Linked DNA regions of Homo sapiens: all the other regions are linked to region 3. Evidence: promoter capture Hi-C in 16 types of primary human blood cells and fetal thymus (Javierre and others, 2016). All regions are on one chromosome and are shown on one strand. Each heading gives the region's core, a stretch centred on a gene start or on the middle of the fragment in contact. The rest is flanking DNA. Distances are from core to core; before and after follow the strand shown.

Region 1 (3,915 bases), core at 522-3,021, 410 kb before region 3:
ATAAACCAGTCTTACCATTTTTTCAACCCCTCTCCTTTCTCACAAAAATATAAGCACCAGGATTTCAAGAATTTATTCACTTTGTGTTCCCATATCAGAGCCTTCAGTGCCTGCATCATTTGTGCTTAATTCTGGATGTTCTGAGTCTACAGTTCTGGCATATGAGGCATATTGAAAAATTAGCATCAAGAGCATATTATCTGAGCAAGAGAGGCTTGATTAGAATAGTGATCATGTCTCTGTCCCTTGCTAGGTTTATATTCTGACAACTTTCCTAGAGGCATTAGCCTAATTTGACTAATAAGGGAGACTTTTAAAAATTATCAGTAGTTGGCCGGGGGCGGTGGCTCACGCCTGTAATCCCAGCACTTTGGGAGACCGAGGCAGGCAGATCACGAGGTCAGGAGATCAAGACCATCCTGGCTAACATGGTGAAACCCCGTCTCTACTAAAATTACAAAAAAATTAGCCGGGTGTGGTGGCGGGCACCTGTAGTCCCAGCTACTCGGGAGGCTGAGGCAGGAGAATGGTGTGAACCCGGGAGGTGGAGCTTGCAGTGAGCCGAGACTGCGCCACTGCACTCCAGCCCGGGCAACAGAGCCAGACTCTGTCTCAAAAAAAAAAAATTATCAATAGTTAGAATTTATATATTTCAACTGAGGTATCTTATGGGAAGCCATGTCTAATTCATCATAAGAAATATTTCAGTGTTTAGGTAATAAACTTAGCGCCACTCCATCTTTTTTACTTCTGGGTAAGAACTATCATAATAACCAAGGCCAGAAATAACCTTGCTTCTTCATAGTATACAATCCAGAGAAGCTTCTTGCTTTGAATAGCAATCAATACACCTGAAGCAAGCACACGTCCTAGAAGAAATTCTTTTGGGCTGGGTGTGGTGGCTCACGCCTGTAATCCCAGCACTTTGGGAGGCCGAGGCTGGCAGACCACCTGAGGTCAGGAGATCGAGACCACCCTGGCCAACATGGAGGAACCCCGTCTCTATAAAAAATACAAAAATTAACCAGGCATGGTGACCTGTGCCTGTAATCCCAGCTACTCAGGAGGGTGAGGCAGGAGAATAGCTTGAACCTGGAAGGCAGAGGTTGCAGTAAGCCCAGACTGTGCCACTTGCACTCCAGCCTGGCCGACAGAGTGAGACTCCATCTCAAAAAAAAAAGAAAAAAAAAAAAAGAAATTCTTTTGAGCGCTCTCCTATTGATACACCACACAGTCACGTATGGTTTACTATCATATTTATGATGACTTTTTTTTATACCTTCTTTGACAGGAGCTATGGTCCTGATAATCTTTGGAAAAAGGTTAAAAGCTTGATTTAACTTTTGGTATCATAAGTGAATGAGAAATAATTCTTGTGATAAAAACTGTGACTACATGAGCATGAAAATGAAAATTTATGTGAAAAAAACACACCTAAAATTGTATGCACAGAATATTGATTCACAATTTTTCTTTTTTTTTTTTCTTTCTTTCTTTTTTTTCTTTTGTGAGACAGAGTCTCATTCTGCTGCCCAGGCTGGAGTGCAGTGGCATGATCTCGGCTCACTGCAAGCTCCGCCTCCCAGGTTCATGCCATTCTCCTGCCTCAGCCTCCCGAGTAGCAGGGACTATGGGTGCCCGCCACCACGCCCGGCTAATTTTTGCATTTTTAGTAGAGACAGGGTTACACCGTGTTAGCCAGGATGGTCTCGATCTCCTGACCTCATGATCCACCCACCTCAGCCTCCCAAAGTACTGGGATTACAGGCGTGAGCCACCCCTCCCCGCCTGATTCACAATATTTAACAAATAACGCCACAAAATTATAAAGTTTATTATAAAGTTGATCTGATCCATGATTGCAATGGAATTTTTTATATAACTTAGCAGCAAATGAAAAAGACATTAACATTTGTTAGCATACATGCTGTTCGAAACCAGTTAGTAAACTATTTCTAAGAAACATGTCCAAAAATGTTGCTTGAGGAAATAATACATACTATGTTTGATCACATACAATCAAACCTAACTCAGGGATTCAGCTGTGAATAATAGGAAAGACCCACAATCTTCCTGATATGAGGAAGGTGCTTAATCTCACAAAAGAGTTCTGGGTGAAACCAGACACTGCAGAAAGAGTACATAAACAAGTTCCCATGTAGCTGTTTTTGACAGCACCATTGTGGATGTGGATGTCAAACTAAAAAGCTTTTTAGCACAGCAAAGGAAACAATTAACAGAGTGGAAAGGCAGGCAACACACGGAGTGGGAGAAAATACTTGCAAACCATATATCTGATAAGGTGTTAAAATCCAAAATATATAAAGAATTCAAACAGCTCAATAGCAAGAAAACAATCCAATTTAAAACTTTTATTATTTATTTATTTTTGAGATTGAGTCTCACTCTGACACCCACATTGGAGTGCAGTGGCACAATCTTGGCTCACTGCAACCTCTGCCTCCCAGGCTCAAGCCATCCTCCCACCTCAGCTGGGAGTAGCTGGGACCACAGGTACATGCCACAATGCTCAGCTAATTTTTTGTATATTTGGTAGAGATGAGGTTTTGCCATGTTGCCTAGGCTGGTCTCAGACTCCCGAGATCTGGCAATCCACCTGCCTCAGACTCCCAAAGTGCTGAGATTATAGGCATGAGCCACTGGGCCTGGCCTCCAATTTTTCAAATGGGCAAAGGATCTAAACAGACATTTCTGAAAAGAGCAAATATAAATGACAAAGACATTCATGAAAAAATGTTTAACATCTCAAATCATTAGGGAAATGCAAACTAAAACCTCAATGAGACATCACACCTGCGAGAATGACTGTTACCAAAAAGATTTTTCAAAAGTCTGGGTGCGGTGGTTCATGCCTGTAATCCCAGCATTTTGGGAGGCCAAGACAGGTGGATCACGAGGTCAGGAGTTCACGAGCAGCCTAGCCAACATAGTGAAACCCCATCTCCACTAAAAACACAAAAATTAGCTGGGCATGGTGGCATGTGCCTGTAATCCCAGCTACTCAGGAGGCTGAGGCAGGAGAATTGCTTGAACTGGGACCCGGGAGGTAGAGGTTGTAGTGAGCCGAGATCGCGCCACTGCACTTCAGCCTGGGCTACAGAGCGAGACTCCGTCTCAAAACAAAAACAAACAAACAAAAACTTCTATACTTAAGTGGGACGTAGCCCAGAAAAGCAACACTGTTTTCACATTTGAAAATCACAATATTAATAGAATCAGTATCAAAAACATTTGACAAGGGTCAATATCCTTTCAATACCTCTTCCACCATGAAGACATTCAGTAAACTGGAAATGGAAGGGAACTTCCTTAACCTGAAATAAGGTATCCATGAAAACCCCACTATAACATCATACTGATGGTGACACTGAATGTTTCCCCCTAAGATCAAATACAAGACAAGGATGTCTGTTTTTGACACAGCTATTTAACATGCTAAAAGATGCTACCAGGGCAATCAGGCAAGAAAATGAAATAAAAGCATTCCAGATTTTAAAGGGCATACAAACACAGCCTCTGTCTCCCCATCAGACATACAAAATCACTCACACTTTGTCACTGCACATATAGGTGGCCATACCCAGGTAGACACACAAACCCTCAGAGATAACACCTCAGAGACATAAACAGGTGCTTGCAGAGACAAACACAGCCCAGGCCTCTCCACTCCTCCCCAGCTTTCTCTCTCTCCTTAGGACTAAGCACCATCTGACACACTGCATATTCTACTTATATCTTGTTTCTTGTCTCCCACCCTGCTTCAGGCAGATAGGGTTATTTGTTCAGCTCTGTTTAACGCAGCACCCACTAGGAGATCTGTTACAAAAAAGGAGATTAATACTCATGGAAAGGCTGGGCGCAGTGGCTCACGTCTGTAATCCCAGCACTTTGGGA
Region 2 (4,446 bases), core at 1,185-3,684, 360 kb before region 3:
CTTTACTCGTTCCACTACCCTTCCAGTACATGAAAGAACTCACACAGGAGTGAATGCCGATGAATGTAAAGAATGTGGGAATGCATTCAGTTTTCCTAGTGAAATTCGTAGACATAAAAGGTCTCACACTGGAGAAAAACCCTATGAGTGTAAGCAATGTGGGAAAGTCTTCATTTCTTTCAGTTCCATTCAGTATCATAAGATGACTCACACTGGAGAGAAACCCTATGAATGTAAGCAGTGTGGGAAAGCCTTTAGATGTGGCTCACACCTTCAAAAGCATGGAAGGACTCACACTGGAGAGAAACCCTATGAATGTAGGCAATGTGGTAAAGCCTTCAGATGTACCTCGGACCTTCAAAGGCATGAAAAGACACACACTGAGGATAAACCCTATGGATGTAAGCAGTGTGGGAAAGGCTTTAGATGTGCTTCACAACTTCAAATTCATGAAAGGACGCACAGTGGAGAGAAACCCCATGAATGTAAGGAATGTGGAAAAGTATTCAAGTATTTTTCTTCCTTGCGTATACATGAAAGGACGCACACTGGAGAGAAGCCCCATGAATGTAAGCAATGTGGAAAAGCATTCAGGTATTTCTCTTCCTTGCATATACATGAAAGGACACACACTGGAGATAAGCCATATGAGTGTAAGGTATGTGGCAAAGCCTTCACTTGTTCCAGTTCCATTCGATATCATGAAAGGACTCACACTGGAGAGAAACCCTATGAATGTAAGCACTGTGGTAAGGCCTTTATTTCCAATTACATTCGATATCATGAAAGGACTCACACTGGAGAGAAACCCTATCAATGCAAGCAATGTGGCAAAGCCTTTATTCGTGCCAGTTCATGTCGAGAACATGAAAGAACTCATACCATTAATAGATGAGAAATCCTTTTAGTGGAAGCAACGGGAGAAGCTTTCTGTTGTCCCACTTCCTTTGAAACACAAGAAAAGAGAGTGGTGAAAGAACCTCTGGATAACTGCTTTTTGAATTGAGAAGAGAGACTTGCGATAGGACAATAAAATCTAGAAGAACTTGGATGGTTTCGTAATACAATTCACCTATAGCCAATCTTGCATGAGATTTCAAAGGCACAGAAAAGGAAGGCATCAGTCACATATTAGAGGCCCCACACAGGGAGAGAGGTGTGTGGCTACCCGCTTCCAGCCCATTTTCCTGATTCTTTGGCTTGTTAATCGAGAATATCCCCCAAATCACTTGTCTCTGTTCCTCAGAGTTGTAGGTCTCCAGATATGTCCCCAGTGCTCCACATTAAAGATACATGCCCACTTTGCTGTTTCTTCAGAAATGTTAAAATGTTTACCAGAGAACTAATAAATGTTGTTATGGCTGGAAATACTCACTGATGCCCAACTCTTCTATAGATTGAGTTGGTTTAAGAGGTCTACTTTGTATTGCAAGCATTGTTGTTTCTACGGATTAGCGAGCCTGTTCTTGATTAAACCAACTAGATGGGAGCTTGTTCCTCTGCTGCATTGTGCAGTGATTGGTCTCACCAAGGGCTTTTATGTGAGAAGAGCCACCTTGCTCTTATCAGGAAATTTCAAGCATTTGCTGTTATTCACAACTGAATGTAATGTCTCACTTCGTTTTTAACTTTGTATGAGTATACCTGACTAAAAACACTAATGCGGTTTCTTGGCAACAAATACTTCTGTTCATGTATTTTAGAAATAAGCTTATTAACTGTTTATAACAACTGCATACTAACAATTATTATTTTTTAATGAAGAAGCTACATTACAACCTCCCATTAACATCATGTATTAGATCAAGTTGATAATGTTACCATGTTATCCGGTGGTCACTGTGAGTCAGTGTTGCCATGTGGATGTCAGGCATATTTTTCCTCATGTAGATTTTACTTTTCATGCTTATATTCTTAGTTTTTATCTGGATCATGAATTTTCATCTATTCTAAATACCAAAGGTGATCTCATGTTCTTATGAGTGACTTCTGACCAAAGACCACCAGTGGCATAAGTGTCGTCAAAGAGGGTGTAATAATATACTGTGGTAATGAATATGACCAAAAGCCATAGATGACTGTGAGATGTGTGAGATATTAAAAGATAGTCACATTTCGTGAGAAGAGAAAAATTTGGGGTATGTTTGCAATTTAAAGTGTTTTCTTCTGTCACATTTCAAGACATGGTTAAAGAATGAGGTTTTTTTTTATTTTAATTTTTTTTTTTTTGAGACGGAGTCTTGCTCTGTCGCCCAGGCTGGAGTGCAGTGACTCGATCTCGGCTCATTGCAAGCTCCGCTTCCTGGTTCACGCCATTCTCCTGCCTCAACCTCCCAAGTAACTGGGACTACAGGTGCCCGCCACCGCGCCTGGCTAATTTTTTGTATTTTTAGTAGAGACAGGGTTTCACCATGGTCTCGATCTCCTGACTTCGTGATCCACCCGCCTCGGCCTCCCAAAGTGCTGGGATTACAGGCATGAGCCACTGTGCCCTGCCAAGAATTAGTTATTTTTGTATTGATCCATCATGGTCACTGAAGAGCATCATCTCACATTGCAGGTGTATGACATGTGCCTGTTCAGGGGCAAAAGACTCGGCCTTCTGGCGAGGGGAGGCCAGCCATCAGACTTCTGGACCAGTTTTTACCATACTATTCTCTAAACCCTGATATATTCCCTACAATTTATGGACATTGTTAACCATAACATACCTCAGTTAAAATCTATAAATTCACTTCTTATCAAGGTATATACTATGATTTTATTTATTTATTTTTTGTAGAGATGGAGTCTCCCTGTTTCCCAGGCTGGTCATTGACTGCTGGATCATGTGATTCTTCTGTCTCCATCTCCCCAAGTTCTGGGATTACAGACATGAGCCACCACAATTGGCTACTACTTTTTTAAAAAAATCACCTTGAGTCCTATGGGGCCAATATGTTTTTGAAAACTGAATTTCCTGCCCAGTAAAGAACAAAGTCAGCATCACTATTCCAATCAAGTCTTTCTTTCTCTGGTAACATGCTGTTGATGCAAACTTGTCAGGAACCCTCTTATGCTAATATTATGAAGCTAATGACATCGTGGAAAAGTCATGCATGGAACAATCCGATCATTTCCTTTAAGGTGTCATGGGTGCTTCTCTTCACAAAAGCTTATTTCAGTCTCCCTAGAGTAAAAATCCCAGTCCCAGCAGACATAGAAGCAATCACTGACTGACCAAACCTTAACTATGTGTGATGACATATGGAAAATACCTTGATTTGTGAGATATGAATTTTTTTTTTTTGGAGACAGAGTCTGGAGGACAGTGGTGCAATCTTGGCTCACCGCAACCTCTGCCTCCTGGGGTCAAGTGATTCTCCTGCCTCAGCCTCCCAAGTAGCTGGAATTACAGGCACCTGCCACCATGCCTGGCTATTTTTTTGTATTTTTAGTAGACAGGGTTTCACCATGTTGGCCAGGCTGGTCTCAAACTCCTGACCTCATGTGATCCACCTGCCTCGGCCTCCCAAAGTGCCAGGATTACAGGTGTGAGCCACCATGCCTGGCCAAAAATTCCTTTTTTTTTTTTTGAGATGGAGTCTTGCTCTGTTGCCCAGGCTGGAGGGCAGTGGCGCGATCTCGGCTCACTGCAAGCCTCCGCCTCCCTGGTTCACGCCATTCTCCTGCCTCAGCTTCCCGAGTAGCTGGGACTACAGGTGCCCGCCACCACGCCTGGCTATTTTTTTGTATTTTTTTTTTTAGTAGAGACAGGGTTTCACCATGTTAGCCAGGATGGTCTCGATCTCCTGGCCTCGTGATCCGCCCACCTCGGCCTCCCAAAGTGCTGGGATTATAAGTGTGAGCCACCACGCCTGGCCCAAAAATTCTTATTTTGACTATTCATGTCTTATTTTTGCACTTTTTCACAAAGCAAGGTCAAAAAGCAAAGGAAAAATCCTTTAAGATCAATGTACTTAGGTTGAAAATGTGTTTTTTCTCAGGAAAAACTTGTAATTTATATAATTACAATCCTCAGTTTATTTGCAGCATCACCAAATTTTCTTACATATTTCAAATGTGAACTTAAGATATATATTTTTCTCATTATTTACATTTTGCTTCCTACCTATGGCTTTTTTTTTTTTTTTTTTGAGACAGAGTGTCGCTCTGTTGCCTAGGCTGAATTGCAGTGGCACGATCTCAGCTCACTGCAACCTCTGCTTCCCAGGTTCAAGCAAGTCTCGTCACAACCTCCCAAGTAGCTGGCACTACAGGCGAACACCACCATGCCCAGTTAATTTTTGTGTTTTTTGTAGAATTGGAGTTTCACCATGTTGGCCAGACTGGTCTCTAAACTCCTGGCCTCAAGCGATCCATCTGCCTCGGCCTCCCAAAGTGCTGGGATTATAGGCATGAGCCAACATGCCTGGCTCCTCTAGACCTTTTAAATCTTTTACTCAT
Region 3 (4,137 bases), core at 552-3,051:
AGCCATATATCCCCAAGGAAGGGATGGGGGAAGAAAAGCTGAGTGTTCTAAGGAAGTAGCTTATTGAGGAAGGGTATACCAGGAGACTCCTCCCACTACAGGGCATCATGCTGCTTCCCTACAAGGTCCCACCATCTCCACCTCAGGGTGTCCTCTGGGAGGAGTGACAAAGGGACTGATATTCACTTGACACTACAAGAGACTTGGCAGCTGTGGGCATCTTGGGGTGGCCCCAGGCAGCTCTGAAACCCAGGACCAGGAAACCATAGAGGATGGGCTGGGGACTCATCACTCTGTAACGTTTCCAAAGAGGAAACTTAATCCAAAGACATTCTCAAAAGGTGTCTCTGTCTAGGGATGATGAAGGGAGGACAGTAACAAAGATTTTATTTATTAATATTCATTTTTTTTACAGCGAAATGTCTGGTGGTTTTTCTCTGCTTCCTCTCATGTGAAATGTTCACAAACACAAAACCTTTTACAAAGAGCCATATATTGCTATGTATAAACAAAATGACAATTAAAATACTAGCCTCTGTTTGAAAAATAAACTGGGGGACAAGGAGTTCATAAAGTTGCTGTGAATTGAGGAGAGAAAGCCTGAGGAAGGCTCTGGAAGCCAAGGGATTTTCTGTCGGCCCTAGGAGGAGTTAGGATGAGAGAACACAGTGGTGGACTTGAGACCCTGCTGCCCACATCTTTGGAAGACTCGAAGGCGAACGGGTCACCCTTGGGAAGAAAGAAGGGACAGGGGACCACACAGACCACAACTCCTCCCACACACAAACCCCACACACGAGTCTGCCTGGTGACCTGTCATCACCGTGCAGCCTCCTCACCGGGTTCACAGAACTGCGAGCCAGGCTGGAGGCGAGATTGCAGTTAGATATTAACCAGGTGCCCTCAGCCCCGCTGCCTCGCGGGGCCGCCTCCCCAAGAGTCAGGCCACAGCAGATGCTGACCGCCGGCTTCGCCATTGTGCTTGGGGATGAGATCTCTGAGAGTTGCTCAAGAGTCGCCTGAGTTCTTTCTCAGATCCTGAATTCCAGCGGAAAGGCTGGCGCCAACCAGGCTGAAGACCCCACAAGGGAACCCACTCAGCAGAAGAATGCGGTTTCTTCACCTCCAGTCCCAAGAGTCACCCCTCACTTCCCCACCATCCAGCGACCCCACGCCCCAGCCGCCCCTGTCCACACCCCTAAACACCCCATCCCCAAACCTCTCAGGAAGGCGGATCTGGGGTGTCCTCCCCTCTCCCCCTATTAAACTGTTTCTGCTGCAGCCCTCGGCGTCTCGGTGCAGTGACTCGGGCCGCGAACCTGTGCCGGTTACAGCCGCACAATCTGGGGAGACGCAGGACTGCGGGCGCGGAGCTGCCCAGACAGGCCTCCAGGGCCAGGGCCGCAGTGGCCGCGCAGGGACGGGACAGGACGCCCGGGGTCCCGGCTGCCGCCCCAGCCCCATCGTGCGGCCGAGGGAACCGAGGGCCGAGCTGCGCCAGGGTGTCGCCGGCGGGGAAGACCTGGTGCCACCACAGCCGGTTCCGGCCGGTTCCAACCAGTCTCTCCTCTCACGCGTCGGGACACCAGACCTCACACACTCACCATTTCCCGGCTTCCGGCGTCCAGGTTCCTCCCTCTGCCTCCCGCTGTCAGTGCGGGTCCCAGCGAGACAGAAGCTGCCACAGACGTTCCAGGGCGTCTCTCAGTGACAGAACCCGGAGCCCAGTGCAGGGGCGTGGAGAAGACTCGGCGGGCTCTTTGAACCTTGCACCCTCCTCCGGTCAGTGCGCCTGATTGACAGTTCTCACGACCCCGCCCCGCGGCCCTGATTGGATAGTGCGCCAGGTCCCTCCCCCGGGCACTGAGTAACGGAAGAAGCGATCTCGGGCAGCGGAGTGGAACCTGATAAACAGATTCCAGACAGGCCTTGAGAGGACTAGCTTCCTCCCTGCGCTGTGACCTGACCCCCTCCCAGGGGACATTTGCATTTAGGCAGTATGTCCTGACCTTCCTCCTTTTTCCTCTTGGACAGGGACCCACAAGTCTGTGCAGGAAATTCCAGACTCACTGTCCAGTGGAGCTATCCCCTGATTTGAGAGCAGGAAGGGAGCCCAGGCCACACTGCAGCAGAAGGGAGGGGCTGATGTCCTCCAGGAATCAGGAGTTTTGGATGAGGCTGTTGGCTGCACAGGCCAAGCCTTTCTCCCACCTTATGTCTCAATCTACTAATTTTCAGTGCAGAATATAAAAACACCCCAACAAAGCCGGGCGTGGTGGCTCACACCTGTAATCCCAGCACTTTGGGAGGCTGAGGCAGGTGGATCACCTGAGGTCAGAAATTCGAGACCAGTCTGGCCAACATGGTGAAATCCCGTCTCTAAAATACAAAGATTAGCCGGATGTGGTGGCGCACGCCTGTAGTCCCAGCTACTCAGGAGGCTGAGACAGAGGAATCACTTGAACCTGGAAGGCAGAGGCTGCAGTGAGAGAGTGGGCGAGACAGAGGGAGACTCCGTCTCAAAAAAAAAAAAAAAGAAAAAAGAAAAAAGAAATAAATAAAATTGTTAAATGTGTGGAAAAACTGGAATTATATGGCGGCAATATTTTATAAAGCAAAAACTTGAACTAGCTCAGATAAGCAGCCTGCTGCATCCACACACAGTTCACAAGTCAACCACTTTCAGGAGGCCAAACATATTCCAAAGCTTGGAGGCCAGACGATAATTCCTGAAATGGAGCCCTAGGGTGGATCAGAACCTGGGGATGAGTCAGGGGCACTAATGGATTTAACTCTGGGAGTTCAATTTGCCCTCCTGTCTCCTAAACACAGCGTGGAAATGCTCCTTCCATCAAGCCTATAAATGTTATTGAATTAAATGCTTCAATCAAAGGCTGAGACATTAGACTTTGAATTTGAAAACATTCATCTTCATATTTTTATGAAGAATACCAGATATAAAAGCATTATGAGGCCAGGCACCGTGGCTCATGCCTGCAATCCCACCACTTTGGGAGGCTGAGGTGGGTGGATTGCTTGAGCTCAGGAGCTCAAGACCGGCCTGGGCAATGTGGTGAAACCCCCATCTCTATTTAAAAACAAACAAAAAAAAAGCGTTATTAACTGGGAGCTGGCACCCATGGTGATACGAAGAAAAAGAGGTTTAATTGACTCACAGTTCAGCATGGCTGGGGAGGCCTCACAATCATGGTGGAAGGCAAAGGAGGAGCAAAAGCAAATGTTACATGGCGGCAGGCAAGAGAGCGTGTGCAGGGGAACTGCCCTTTATAAAGCCATCGGATCTCATGAGACTTACTCACCCAAATCTCATTTTGAATTGCAGCTCCCATAATCCCCACATGTCATGGGAGTGATCCAGTGGGAGGTAATTGAATCATGGAGGCGGTTTTCCCATGCTGTTCTCGTGATAGTGAATAAGTCTCATGAAATCTGATGGCTTTATAAAGGGCAGTTTCCCTGTACATGCTCTCTTGCCTGCCGCCATGTAACATTTGCCTTTGCTCCTCCTTAGCCTTCCACCAACACCTGACCAAATGGATATGACATCTACAGAACTTTCCACCCAAAACCAACAGATTATACATTCTTCTCCTCACCACATGGCACATACTCTAAAATCAGTAACATAATCAGACATAAAATAACCCTCAGCAAATTAAAAAAACAAGCAAACAAAATCATACCAACTGCACTCTCAGACCACAGTGCAATAAAAATAGAAATCAAGACTAAGAAAATCTCCCCAAACCATACAATTATATCAAAATTAAATGACCTGGTTCAGAATGACTTCTGAGTAAATAATGAAATTAACACCAAAATCAAGAAATTCTTGGAAACTGAGAAGAAAGATACAACATACCAGAATCTCTGGGGCACAGCTAAAGAAGTGTTAAGATGGAAATTTATAGCACTAACTGCCCAAATCAAAAAGAAAGATCTGAAATTAATAACCCAATATCACAACTAGAAGAACTAGAGAAGCAAGAGCAAACCAATCCCAAAGCTAGCAGAAGACAAGAAATGACCAAAATCAGAGCTAAAATGACCAAAATCAGAGCTAAACTGAAGGAAATTGAGATACAAAAAAAAAAAAAAACATACAAAAGATTAGCA

What was found. Contacts are between HindIII fragments. The CHiCAGO score rates a contact against its expected background, and 5 or more counts as called.
Region 1: a contact is called between a fragment that was not itself captured here and the fragment with the promoter of ZNF441 in region 3, in 1 of 17 cell types (activated CD4 T cells). The highest score is 5.2, in activated CD4 T cells.
Region 2: a contact is called between a fragment that was not itself captured here and the fragment with the promoter of ZNF441 in region 3, in 3 of 17 cell types (total CD4 T cells, naive CD4 T cells and monocytes). The highest score is 6.1, in total CD4 T cells.

What each region holds. Positions count from the first base shown.
Region 1 is chr19:12,176,583-12,180,497 of GRCh38, reverse strand. All of the region lies in intron 1 of ZNF136 (zinc finger protein 136), which reads right to left. Among named protein-coding and RNA genes, the nearest start is that of ZNF136, 15 kb to the right of the region's middle. The HindIII fragment of the contact is 878 bases long and covers 1,333-2,210 here.
Region 2 is chr19:12,129,036-12,133,481 of GRCh38, reverse strand. ZNF20 (zinc finger protein 20) reads left to right here. Exons shown (of 4, transcript NM_021143.4): 4 at 1-2,132. The coding sequence ends at 895. It overlaps ZNF625-ZNF20 (ZNF625-ZNF20 readthrough (NMD candidate)), which reads left to right. Exons shown (of 8, transcript NR_037802.1): 8 at 1-2,132. Among named protein-coding and RNA genes, the nearest start is that of ZNF20, 9.1 kb to the left of the region's middle. The HindIII fragment of the contact is 1,444 bases long and covers 1,713-3,156 here.
Region 3 is chr19:11,764,664-11,768,800 of GRCh38, reverse strand. It overlaps ZNF441 (zinc finger protein 441), which reads right to left and starts at 1,801. Exons shown (of 4, transcript NM_152355.3): 1 at 1,605-1,801. The coding sequence starts at 1,607. RefSeq lists silencers at 771-880, 1,331-1,470 and an enhancer at 1,541-1,640. The HindIII fragment of the contact is 9,985 bases long and covers 1-2,709 here.